Linked DNA regions of Homo sapiens: region 1 is linked to region 2. Evidence: promoter capture Hi-C in 16 types of primary human blood cells and fetal thymus (Javierre and others, 2016). All regions are on one chromosome and are shown on one strand. The core of a region is centred on a gene start or on the middle of the fragment in contact, and the rest is flanking DNA. Distances in the headings are between cores, read along the strand shown.

Region 1 (6,852 bases), core at 117-2,616, 99 kb before region 2:
TGTGGGCCCAGGAGATAGAAGAACTGTTGAGTCCTTATCAAATTTTAACAAAATGGAAACTTTGTTATTCTAATTATTCCAGATGGTTGAAAAACATTGCTAGCCACTTTATAAAGCAAACATGACCTTAATAACAAAATCTGATGAGTAAGTTCCCAAAATATTATAGACCTAAAGTCCGTAAAATGGCCTAAAAAATTATAGACCAATTTCACTTAAGAATATAGATGTGGCTGGGTGTGGTGGCTCACGCCTGTAATCCCAGCACTTCGGGAGTTGGAGGCAGGTGGATCATTTGAGGTCAGGAGTTCGAGACCAGCCTGGCCAACATAGTGAGACCCCATCTCTACTAAAAATATGAAAATTAGCCAGGGGTGGTGGTGTGTGCCTGTAATCCCAGCTATTTGGGAGGCTGAGGCTGAAAATGAAAATCTCTTGAGCCTGGGAGGCAGAGGTTGCAGTGCCCAGCCTAGGTGACAGAGTGAGACTCTCTCTCTCTCTCTCTCTCTCTCTCTCTCTCTCTCTCTCTATATATATATATATATATATATATATATATATATATATGCAAACATTCTCAGTGCACACAGTTTAAAAGTAGGAAATCTGTCAACATAAATGAAGGATACTTTAAAGACAAAGATCACATAATTCTGTCAATAAATGCTAAAAATACTACTTATAAAATTCCAAAGTGATCTCTTACAACAACTCTAACATAGGAATATGAAGATTATAACTAGACAGGATTAAAGCTGGGATTGGAATAAAAACTGCTCGGAACAGGAAAAATAAAGATGAAGTAAAGAGCTGATCTAGGTAAAAATGGAGCAAGGGAAACAGAACTAGGAAATCTAAGCAAGCAAGCCACTATATTTTTAACACTATGTAGACACAACAGAAGAGACTGATGTAGTCATAGAAAATACCTTGACTATTGCTTTTTCTAAAAGTTCAGGAAAACTAATTTCACATAAAAATAAATAAGAAATACTGAGGTCAAATCTTATTCAAAAGTATTATAGGCTGGGTGTGGTGGCTTATGCCTGTAATCCCAGCACTTTGGGAGGCCGAGGCAAGTGGATCTCTTGAGCACAGCAGTTTGAGACCAGCCTGGGCAACACGGCAAAACCCCGTCTCTACTAAAAACACAAAAACTATCTGTGCATGGTGGTGGGTGCCTGTAGTCCCAGCTACTCAGGAGGCTGAGGTGGGAGGATCACCTGAGTCTGGGAGGTCAAGTCTGTGGTGAGACATGATTGTGCCACTGCACTCCAGCCTGGGTGACACAGTGAGACTGTCTCAAAAAGCAAACAAACAAACAACCCCAAAGTATTGTAAGAAAAAAGAGAATAAGGGGGAGAATAATATTACTACAAACAAAAAAAGCATGCCAGAAAGATATACCTGCACAAAAGGTCAATAAATGTGGTATAGCACATAAACAGAATTAAAAACAAAAATCACACGATTATCTCAATAGATGCAGAAAAAACATTCAACAAAATCCAGCATCACTTTACAATTAAAACTCAGCAAAACTGGCATACAAGGGACTTCCCTCAATGTAACAAAAGCCACCTATGACAAATCAAGAACTCAACCCCTTTTACATAGCTGCAAAACAAACAAACAAACAAAACAAAACAAAAAAAAAACAAAAAAAAAACTTAGGAATATTAACAAAGAAGATGAAAGACCTCTACAAGGAAAGCTAAAAAACACTGCTGAAAGAAATCATAGATGACACAAACAGATGGAAACACATCCCATGCTCATGGATGGGCAGAATTAATATTGTGAAAATGACCATACTGCCAAAAGCAATCTACAAATTCAATGCAATTCCCCTAAAAATACCATCATCATTCTTCACAGTTAAAAAAATTGTTTTAGAATATGGAACCAAAAAAGAGCCCACATAGCCAAAGCAAGACTAAGCAAAAAGAACATATCTGGAGGCATCACACTACCTGATTTCAAACTATACTATAAGGCCGTAGTCACCAAAACAGCATGGTGCTGGTATAAAAATAGGCACATAGGCCAATGGAACAGAATAGAGAACCCAGAAATAAACCCAGATACTTACAGCCAACTGATCTTCAACAAAGCAAACAAAAACATAACATGGGGAAAGGACACCCTTTTCAACGAATTGTGCTAGGATAATTGGCAAGCCGCATGTAGGAGAATGAAACTCGACCTTCATCTCTCACCTTATACAAAAATCAACTCAAGATGGATTAAGGATTTAAATCTAAGACTTGAAACTATAAAAATTCTAGAAGATAACATCGGACAAACCCTTATAGACATTGGCTTAGGCGAGGATTTCATGACCAAGAACCCAAAAGCAAATGCAATAAAAACAAAGATAAATTGCTAGGACTTAATTAAACTAAAGAGCCTTTGCACAGCAAAGGAACAGTCAGCAGAGTAAACAGACAACCCACAGAGTGGGAGAAAATCTTCACAATCTATACATCTGACAAAGGACTAATATCCAGAATCTACAATGAACTCAAACAAATCATCAAGAAAAAAGCAAACAATCCCATCAAAAAGTGGCCTAAGAACATGAATAAATTCTCAAAAGAAGGTATACAAATGCCCAACAAACATATGAAAAAATGCTCAGCATCACCAACAATCAGGGAAAAGCAAATCAAATTGCAATGCGTTACCACCTTAGTCCTGCAAGAATGGTCATAATCAAAAAATCAAAAAACAGTAGATGCTGGTGTGGATGCGGTGATCAGGGAACACTTCTCTACTGCTGGTGGGAATGTAAACTAGTACAACCGCTATGGAAAACAGTGTGGGGAGTCCTTAAAGAACTAAAAGTAGCACTACCATTTGATCCAGCAATCCCACTACTAGAGGAAAAGAAGTCATTATATGAAAAAGATACTTGCAGATGCATGTTTATAGCAGCACAATTTGCAATTGCAAAATCATGGAACCAACTCAAATGCCCATCAATCAATGAGTGGATAAAGAAACTGTGATATATATATATATAAAACGGAATACTAAGCCATAAAAAGGAATGAATTAATGGCATTCACAGCAACCTAGATGAGATTGGAGACTATTATTCTAAGTGAAGTAACTCAGGAATGGAAACCCAAACATCGTTTGTTCTCACTGACATGTGGGAGCCAAGCTATGAGGACACAAAGGCATAAGAATGATACAATGGACTTTGGTGGCTTGCGGGGAAGGGGGAGAGTGGGCAAGGAATAAAAGATTACAAATAGGGTGCAGTGTATACTGCTGGGATGATGGGTGCACCAAAATCTCACAAATCCCCACTAAATAACTTACTCATGCAACCAAACACCATCCATACCCCAATAACTTATGGAAAAAGAAAAAATATAGAAAAAAGAAAATTAATCAAACCCAAGGACGGGTTCATGGGAACCCCAATTTATAGTCAGTTGGTCAGAAGCACAGGTAAAACAACCTAGGGCTTGTGATTGGCATCAAAAGTGGGGAGCAGTCTTTGCGTACTGAGTGCTCAACCTGTGTTATCTGATGCTGTATCAAGGTAGATAGTGTCAGAATTGAATTAGTGGACACCCAGATGGCGTCTGCTGCAGAATTGATTGCTTGTTTGGTGTTCTGGAAAAACCCACAGACATTTGGTCATAGATGTATTCTTTATTAGATGTGGCATGGGAGCAGAGGAAAAACAGTTTGTGTTTTCCACACAATACTCTAGGAAAATTACTAGGCTTTGAAGAAAAATAAAAATTCTCTGGTCATCTAGGCAAAAAAACTCCTTAAGTTAGAAGTGAAAGAAAATTGGATTATTATCATACTTTTAGGCAGTAATACTTCATGCCAGAAGAAAATGGAGTAACATATTTAAGATCTTCAATGAAAGAAAGTGTAAACCAAGGATTTTATATCCAGCAAAGGTGACTTTTAAGTACAAAAGCAGAGACAAACTGTTACCAACATGTGGGAACTCAGGGAACATTGTTTCCATTGCCCCTTCCTGTGGAATCTACTAGAGGAGCTTCAGACAACCAGAAAGAATAGAGAGACACCAGCGTAAAGACTGGTGGTGAATGTTAACATATAGATACTTGTAGAATGTAATGGTTATATGATCTGATTGTGTAATTATGGTACAATCCCTCAAAATAATGGGGGCACAAGGAGAATGAAAGAGCTTATCAAAAATATTTTAAAACATTTTCAATAATCATATCGGTGGTGATAGTATTAGTATGACTATTCTGATACTGTTGTGTGTACAATGTGGAAAAAAGCAAATGAGTGTTTATGAGATTTCTAATCAGTTGATCCTCTGTGTATGCCAGAATTCTTGGCATGGAAGAAAGAAGATACAGATGTAATATAGTAGATGTTAAATAGAAACTCTATAATATTGGGCCAGGTGTAGTGGCTCATGTCTGTAATCCCTGCACCTTGGGAGGCTGAGGTGGGAGGATTGTCTGAGGCCCGGAGTTTGAGACCAGCCTGGGCAACAGAGTGAGACCCTGTATCTTAAAAAAAAAAAAAAAAAAAGCAGGGTATGGTGGTGCACACCTGTGGTCCTAGCTACTCGGGAGGCTGAGTGTTAGAGGATTGCTTGGGCCCAGGAGGTCGAGGCTGCAGTGAGCTGTGTTCATGCCAGTGCATTCCAGGTTGGGTGACAGGGTGAGATTCTGTCTCAAAAAACAACAAAACCCCAAATTCTAATATTGAATTTGAATTGGAAAACCCCGTATGAACTGTTGAGGTATTTTATCTTAAAATATTTACATATTTTATTTCTATTTTCTAGTTCTGTTGACCAAAAACATCTGGGCATAATGACCACCCAAATGCGGTGAGCATTCCTAGGACCAAGATTATAGCACTGAAATACCCTTTCCTATGAAAAATAAACCAGGCTTTTAGAGAAATATTGTGAGAGGAATCTGGAATATCTTATCATACCAGACAGAGAGGAACTTCTTAAGCCACAAAGGTTATGTCAAAAGGACCCAGGAGTCAACTTGAAGAGGCTCCCAGTAGCCAAAATGGGACAATGTGAGCTTCAATGAGGGTAATAATTATAATGGACTGAAATCTATCAAATGCTTAACCCATGAGTTAATAATAATACTAAAAAAATAAAACCCACAAACCAATTTGTCTTTTTTGGAGGGTGACAGAGAAGCAATGCGTTGTCTTAGATCCTGGTAATTAAAGGGAAAGAATCAAGCATTTATGCCACTTCTCTTATATGAACAGTACCATGGAGTAACCAAATAATAAACACCTTATAAAGTCATTCTAGCTAAGAAATAGAATATCTGGTGTGATTTGAAAGCTTTCACCTTCAGTGTCTAGGGCCAGCTTTCTGCCCCTGGCACCCACACCCAACTCCCTGAGGCTATGGTTCCATTTATTTCTATGCATCCTGGCCCTCACTCTCATCTGACACATGCCCTTACATTCAGGAGATGCTCAATAAATCCTCTGTAGAGTGATGTGAACCCAGTCCAGAGTGAGACTTGGAGGATATGTGGCTTTGGGGGATAGAGAGCCTGCTCGCTGTCCATCCCTCATCTCAAGGAAGAGCTGCAGAGATTTTCTCCCAACTCTCTCCCACTGTCCCAGGGGTTGTGGGGGCAAATCCTGTGCCTTTTCCTAAAAACCAGACCCAGAGGAGTTCAGAAATGGCAGGGATGGAGCATCTTCGAACCTGAACTTACTTAGTAGGAGGGAAGGCCGGAGGTCGCTTAGTTCATCCCACTGCCACCAATTCATGTACAGGATTGAGGAAGCCACCTTTTTGGGAATAAAAATGTTTGACATCCTGTCATCAAGCACTGGGCCAAGGGAACTCAGTGAACAGGTTCTATTTGACACTTCACTGTAACCTATCCCTTCCTGACTCCAGCCCCAGATCAATTGCTACCTCAATTAGTGAATTAGAGCATGTTAATGACTCCATGGGAGCCATCTCAAGGTTCTGATCTGGCATTTGACCAGTATTATATTGTCATGTAAGAGTCACACATGCTCATTGACCATTCCTTCAGATAGTATTTTTTGGCCATCTTCCAGGTACCAGACACTATGCTAGGCATTGAAATACAGAGGGATGAAGAAATGGTGCCTGTCCCCAAGGGTTTCATAGTCTACTGGGGTAAAGAGATGGTACAGTGGGTGTATTCGTCTGCTAGGGCTGCCATTACAAAATATCAGATTGGGGTCTTAAACAACAAACGTTTATTTTCTCCCAATTTTGGAGACTGGAAGTCTAAGATCAAGGTGCTGGCGGGTTGGTTTCTCCTGAGGTCTCTCTCCTTGGCTTGCAAATGGCCACCATCTTGCTGTGTCCTTTTCTCTGTACACACCCATTCCTGATGTCTCTCTCTTCTTATAAGAACACCGGTCCTGGTCGGGCATGGTGGCTCGTGCCTGTAATCCCAACACATTGAGAGGACGAGGCGGGTGGATCACTTGAGGTCAGGAGTTTGAGACCAGCCTGACCAACACGGCGAAACCCCGTCTCTACTAAAAATACAAAATTAGCCAGGAGTGGTGGCACACACCTGTAATCCCAGCTATTCGGGAGGCTGAGGCATGAGAATCACTTGAATTCAGGAGGCAGAAGTTGCAGTGAGCCAAGATCATGCCACTGCACTCCAGCCTGGGCAAGAAGAGTGAAACTACATCTTGAAAAAAAAAAAAAAAAGCACAGCAGTCCTATTCCATTAGGGCCCCACCCTTATGACCTCATTTAACCCTAATTACCCCTTAAAGGCCCTGTCTCCAAATACAGTCACATTAGGGATTAGGGTTTCAACATATTAATTTGTTGGGGGTGGGGTAGTTGGG
Region 2 (6,526 bases), core at 3,809-6,308:
TTAAATGTAATGGTCTAAATAATCCAAATAAAAGGCAGTCTGGCAGAGTGGATTAAAAACATGATCCACCTATATTCTGTGTATAAGAAATTCTCTTCAAATATAACAATTTAGGCAAGTTGAAAGTAAAATGATGGAAAAAGGTATATTATGCAAACATGAATTAAAGAAAAGCAGGACTTCAGAGCAAGAAAAATTACCAGAGATGGAAAGAGACATTATGTATGATGAAACAATCAATCCACCAAGAAGACATATCAAAACTAAATGTGTACGTACCAAACAACAGAGCTGCAAAACATGTGACGCAAAAACTGGCAGGAGAAATAGACAAATGTATAATTATTGTTAGAGATATCAATATGTCTCTTTCAACAGTTGATAGAACAATTAGTCAGAAAATCATAAAAAATATACAACACCATCAAACAACAGCATGTAAACAACATTCATAGGCTGGGCATGGCAACTCACACTTGTGATCCCAGCACTTTGGGAGGCTGAGGCAAGAGGATTGCTTGAGCCCAGGAGTTCAAGACCAGCCTGTGCAACATAGCAAGAACCCATCTATATAAAAAATTTTAAAAATTAGCTGGGCACATACCTGTAGTCCCAGCTACTTGGGAAGCTAAGGCAGGAGGTCAAGGCTGCAGAGAGCTGTGATTACGCCACTGCACTCCAGCCTTGATGACAGAGCCAGAACCTGTCACAAAAAAAAAAAAAAGAAAAGAAAAGTAAAGAAAAAGAAAGATTTATGGAACATTCCATCCAAAACCAGCAGAATGGATATTCTTTTCAACCTTCTATGAAACATTCATCAAGATAGACCATATCCTGGGCCCTAGAACAAACCTCAACAAACTTAAAAGAATTGAACTCATACAGAGTGTGTTCTCTGACCACAATGTAATTACTAGAACCAATAATGGAAAGATAACAGGAAATCTCCAACACTTGTAGACTAAATGATCCTTTAACATAATCCATGGACCAAAGGGGAAGTAGCAAAAGAAATTTAAAAATACATATAACTAAATGAAAATGAAAATACACGTCAAAATGTGTGGGGCACAGCTAAAAGTGCTAACAGGGAAATTTATAGCACTAAATGTTTACATTGAAACATCTCAAATCAATAATCTAAACTCCCGACTCAAGAACTTAGAAACAGAAGAACAAAATAAACCCAAAGCAAACAGAAGGAAGGAAATAATAAAGATAAGAGCAGAAATCAATGAAATTGAAAACAGAAAAATAGAAACAGAAGACTCAGTGAAGCAGCGCTGGTTCTTTGAAAAGATCAGTCAATAAGATTGATAAACCTCTAGCAAAAGTGAAAGACACAAGATAGAAGACACAAGTACCAATATCCGGAATGACACAGGGATATCAGTGCCTGCCCTGTAGCCATGTGACTCGTTCTTCACAATGGAATGTGAGGGAAGTAATATGTGCTACACCTACAATACTTTTCTTTAAAAGAAATCACTAGCCCTCATTTCTTCTGTCTCACCTTTCCATGAGCTGCATATGGCGAAGAAGTTGGTGAGGCAGTTTTGACGACGCAAATAAGGGTGGCATCCTAGGGTGTAGGGGAGCAATAAGCTAGGAAGAGTGGATGTCCTTGGCTGGCCTTGTGAAGCAGAGCTGCCCATCTACTTGATTGAGTCACTGTATATTTTTTTTGTTCCAGCAGCATAGCCTGTACTCAAGCTAATATATTACACCTAGGTGGGTTTATGTCTTAGGGGACTTACATACTTACATATAACCAAGATATTGTGGGGCCACTCCAGTCTTCTGACTATGTAAGGTGTTTTCTGAGGCCTCCATCAATCCTCTGGTCCCCCATCATCTGTCCATGGATGAGGGCCATCACTGAACCACCCTTCATACCTGTCTACCTGACCCTTTCAAGTCCAGCAATTTTCCCACTACTACTACTACTACTACTACTACTACTACTACTACTACTACTTACTACTCCCTTGTCATTGCTGGAGCACAAGAATCCTTCCACCACACCTCAGACACAATGGACCCAAGGATTTCCACAAGGCCATATAAGGCCCTACCTGTCATACTCACTATCTGGCCATTCCCTTTCCCAAGCCTCATGCCCACCTTTGAGATCCAGCACACAACACCTATGCTCCCATCATTTCCTCCTTTCCCAGTGTTTTCTCTGAAGAGGCCCCTGTCATACTGTCTTCCATGGCCACAGGCCTAAGGAGGCACCAACAGTGGGCACTGGCAAGCTAGTGCTGCCTTTCTCCCACACCATTCTCTGAGTAATAAACACAGGCATAGTGTCTGCCAGAGTAGGGGAAAGAGACAGGGGGAAATAGCAGGAGAAAGAGATAGATAGATTAATATATTTAAAATGACATCACCATTATCATCATGCCATTCTCTTTTGAGGCAGAAACAGTTGTTCCCACCTGCAGAGTCAGAGAACAGGCCAGGACACCTGACTTAAAAATTATGACCTCTGCTATGAACAGAAAACCAAAAGCACATTTTTATTGACCACATGTTGGGGTTAAGGCATGACCCAATGCCCAATCTTGTGCTGATGGCACTGGGGAAGGTGGGGGCACAATTGTAAAGAGGCTGCAGAGCTGAGATGAACTCAGGGGAGTCTGTTTGGTGGATGCAAAAGCCTGGAATGCAGAGCCCGGGGACCTGCCTTCATTTGAACGCTGGCTCTGTCACTGACCTTGGGCTCATCATCTACCTTGTCTCTGAGCCTCAATTTCACCTTGGTAAAAGAGGAATAATAACACCTACTCTTTCTATTTCATAATCCAAAAAAGAATGAAGTGGTCTCTGGGAAAACACTTTGGAAGTAAGGACTCTGCACATATAGGGGTTATTATTATTATTACATGAAACAATCACGTTTGTGGATGAAGGGATTTAGATTGGGTGGAGCTGGCCTTCCAGCAGATATTCAGGCCCAAGCAAAGCAGGCCTTTGGGTGATCTACTTCAGGGAAAGCAAAGAGGCCAGGTGGGCAGAGCTGAGGGAAGGAGTTGCTGACAGTGTGCTGGGGCTAGAGTTGGAGGGTTGTCAAAGCCTTGCCAATGAGTTGGGGCTTGTTGGAGCAGACAGTAGGGACCATTGCAGGTTCTTGAGCAGGAGAGACACCTGAAGAAGGTGGAGAGATAGCAAAAGTGGTATGTTGCCTCCTTAGGCTATTTTAGTTGGTAATAATAGGCTATTTCTAAGTCCAGTCAAGCACTATCACTTCCCACCCCAAAGCTGTTCTTGACTTTTCTGTAGGGACTTGCTTCTTCCTCTCGACTCTTACGGTTCTCTCCAGCTGGAGTGTATCTCTCTGGCAGCAGTTATACCAGCTCAAATCTTCCTGAAAACATCCATGATTTTCTGCCTGTATCCCCTGGTTTCCCAGCCCACAGAGGTTACCTCCCTCTTGGGGCTCCTGAGTTCCGTGACCTACTTATGGGGTTCTGTTCATGGAAGGCAGTGTTTCTCGGCCCTAGCTGCTCATTAGAAGACTGGTTTTTAAAATGTCTCCATGCACAGATTGTAACCCAGATCAACGACATTGTGATCTCTGGGGTGGAACCTAGGTATTGGGATGGTTTCTAAACATTCCAGGTAATTCCAATGTGCACATTGCGATTTGGGATCACAGGCCACCTCTGACAATCGGGCATCCTGCCTTGTGATTACTGCTTTCATGCGTGCACTTGGCATACCTGGAACACACTGGGGTGTGGGGAGAAAGCACTAGGATTTTGGTTTATATTTACTTTACATCCTATGCTTTTAAAATGTGCATGCTTTACAATCGACTTGATAGTAGAAGAGGTAATGATCATAACAGTCAGCAGCCGTTGAGCATGTACTGCAGCCAGGCTCTCATCCAAGCACTTGACACGAAAGTGCCAGAAAGCAGTCACACCAACATTCAAACACAGGATGGCTCCAGCAGCCACCTTTTATCCATCATGCCAATCTGTTCTCACAGTACACATGTGTAATTTAGAAACAAACAAAAATAGTAACATATAAATAAGATACAGATACCAGAGCGACCCGTGAAACATTTTTTGCTGATAAGGTTTCATGATCAAATAATCAGACTATGGTGGCCGACTATGAGTCCTCCAGGCCAGGTCTAAATCTCTCTCTTAGTTTTGTTCCTTCTGCCCAGCAGCTAGCAGAATCTGGGTTCTAATAAATGCTCAACAAATATCTGCCACTCCCACAAACATTTATTAAATGATAATCATAGCTAACGTTTATCAACATTGCCAATGTGCCAGAGACATCATACTTAATCTTCACAGAAGTCCTGTAAGGCTATGATTACACCTGCTTTGTGACACTGAGCAGCTAAGTAACTTGCTAGAGTCCAGAACCTGAACCCAGACTGTGGGACTGCACAGCTCATTCTCCCCCACTGGTGAGCAGGTCCACAGGGAGCAGCTTATGAAGGTGGTGGGGGAGAAGTGGATTTTAAAACATCAGGAAGGAGGCAGAGGTGGATCATTCACTCCCTGCAGGTGGTTCCTTCTGCCAAGAGTGACCTTCTCTATCCTTACCTACCCTCCTGCCCCAGCTCAAACGCATCTTCTCCTGGAAGCCTACAGAGGGTTCTGCCCCGTTCCTGCCTCATCTTCCCCACTGAACTTGGAACTCCTAGAGGGCAGGGTTGGGTCCTACTCAAGGGGCATCCACGGAGCTGGGTCAGCAAACATAACACTGGTCATCTGAGCCTGCGCCCGCCCTTCCTCCCAGGCCAGGGCGCCCCCACCCCCTGGGTTTTTCCTCCGTGGACGCCGCTTCCTTTTCCTTCTTTTCTCCCTCCTCCTTCTTCTCCTTCTTTTCCACGTGTCTTCTCCTCCCATCCTCTTTTCTCTCCATCCCCACCTCCCACTCCTTCCCACGCCCCATCTCCCCGACCCCCAGCACCCCGCGCCGCCCCCAACCCTGGGCCGGGCAGGTGCAATTCCTCAGGCGGCCTACAGAGGGCGATGTGCGCCGCCACTGGGCCGCGCCCCTCCGGCGCGCGCTTCCTGTGAGGTCAGGTGGGAGGAAACCGCCTGGAGCCGCCGGGAGTGGACGCCGCCGAGGCCCGGAGTCGCGCCTGCAGGTGAGTCGCCGCGCCGGGGAGGGAGCGCATCCCTCGCTGCAGCCCGGGCCGGGACTTGGAGCCGGTGTCGGGCTCCAGAGGCTGGGGCTGGCGGCCGGGGCAGCGTCCCTCCCGCCCCCGGCCCGGAATGTCAGGTGCGCCGCGGGCCGGGCGCGCGGGTGGCCCACCGGGCGGGGGCGCGATGACAAAGCACAAAGGGACTGCGCGCGACCACCATCCGCTCGGCCTGCGCCAGGGCCAGCGGGCTTCAGGAGGGGGACGCGCCTGTCCCGGGCTCCAGGCTACGGGCAAGACCACAGGGCTCCTGACCTTTTTCGGCATACATGTCACCAGTGCTATCTGGAATGTAGGTGGACACTGAGGCTCATCTCCTGAGAATGAATGGCCTTTACCCAGACTCAAGGGGAGGCGTGGAGGGGCCCCGCAGTCCAGGGGTCCGCGGAGTGGAGCCTTTCGAGGGCCACCGCAGCAACCCCCTCCCATATTTTGGGAAGGCTGGGCCCTGCGCCCGTTAGCCAAGGTTGGACTGGTGTTCCCTGCGAAGTGAGGGACAGGTGAGGGGCGTGCCCTCTGCAGCAAAGGTGTGCTCTTCCGAGGCGCATGATGGCTAGGATGGTCTGCCGCTACCAGGCAGTGGTTGTAAAGTAACCCCGAAGTGACCCTCATCTCCCTGGGTGTTCCTGGGGAAGGCCCAGGTGGTGACATTGACTCCCTGGGGGAGCAACACACTCGACCCATTTTTTAGTGGAAGGGAATTGGAACCCCACTGGGGATGCTGGTGCCCTGGACTCCCAGTTTAGTACCCAGGGAGGGCCCTAGAACCAGAGCTTCTGGCCTCGTGTTCCTTCTCTGCTGTCCGTAGGTGTGATCCCGGGCAGGCCACTTAAGTCTCCCTGTGCCTCCGCCTGTGCAATGGCCGCGCTAGTACCCTCCTCGGGGGAGTGTTGTGAGGCTTGAGTGAGGTGAGCCTTGCAGGATGGGCCTTCCACGGGGCGTGGGCCACAGCAGAGGCTCTAGTCCCAGTTGTGCTGTTGGCAGTGTAGTGATTGGCAGTAAAACTTCCTTTGCCAAGGATCTTTTTGATAGTTTTCCTGGTGGACTCAATGTCTGAAATCTTTTTGCCTGGCAAACAACTTGCCTTTATTTCTCCCCTTTTTGTTAATCAGACACAGCATCTACTCAGCGTGGGTCACCTCTGTGAACATCACTGACTGCAAGCCTCCCTCAATTTCTGGTAAATTTTTTCCTTCAAGCTTTTTGAGGTCAGGGGGAAAATCCTCCACAGATCTTCACGAGTCTGGTCCCAGATCACTAACAGCTAAAGGTTTTGTGGTGGGGAGAACTTCTGTGCCACTTGGCTTCCATTAGCCTGCCCACCCTGACCACACAATGCAGGTGCAG

Evidence for each region. The method cuts DNA at HindIII sites, captures the fragments that hold promoters and counts their contacts. A CHiCAGO score of 5 or more calls a contact.
Region 1: a contact is called between a fragment that was not itself captured here and the fragment with the promoter of FAM241B in region 2, in 4 of 17 cell types (M2 macrophages, naive CD4 T cells, megakaryocytes and 1 more). The highest score is 7.2, in M2 macrophages.

The regions. Positions count from the first base shown.
Region 1 is chr10:69,530,293-69,537,144 of GRCh38, forward strand. LOC105378345 (a long non-coding RNA gene) reads right to left here. Exons shown (of 3, transcript XR_007062177.1): 3 at 5,718-5,796. It also overlaps a transcript of TSPAN15 not described here. Among named protein-coding and RNA genes, the nearest start is that of NEUROG3, 40 kb to the right of the region's middle. The HindIII fragment of the contact is 7,934 bases long and covers 1-5,333 here.
Region 2 is chr10:69,625,189-69,631,714 of GRCh38, forward strand. It overlaps FAM241B (family with sequence similarity 241 member B), which reads left to right and starts at 5,059. Exons shown (of 4, transcript NM_145306.3): 1 at 5,059-5,125; 2 at 6,292-6,359; 3 at 6,521-6,526. RefSeq lists an enhancer at 5,602-6,487. The HindIII fragment of the contact is 17,043 bases long and covers 1-6,376 here.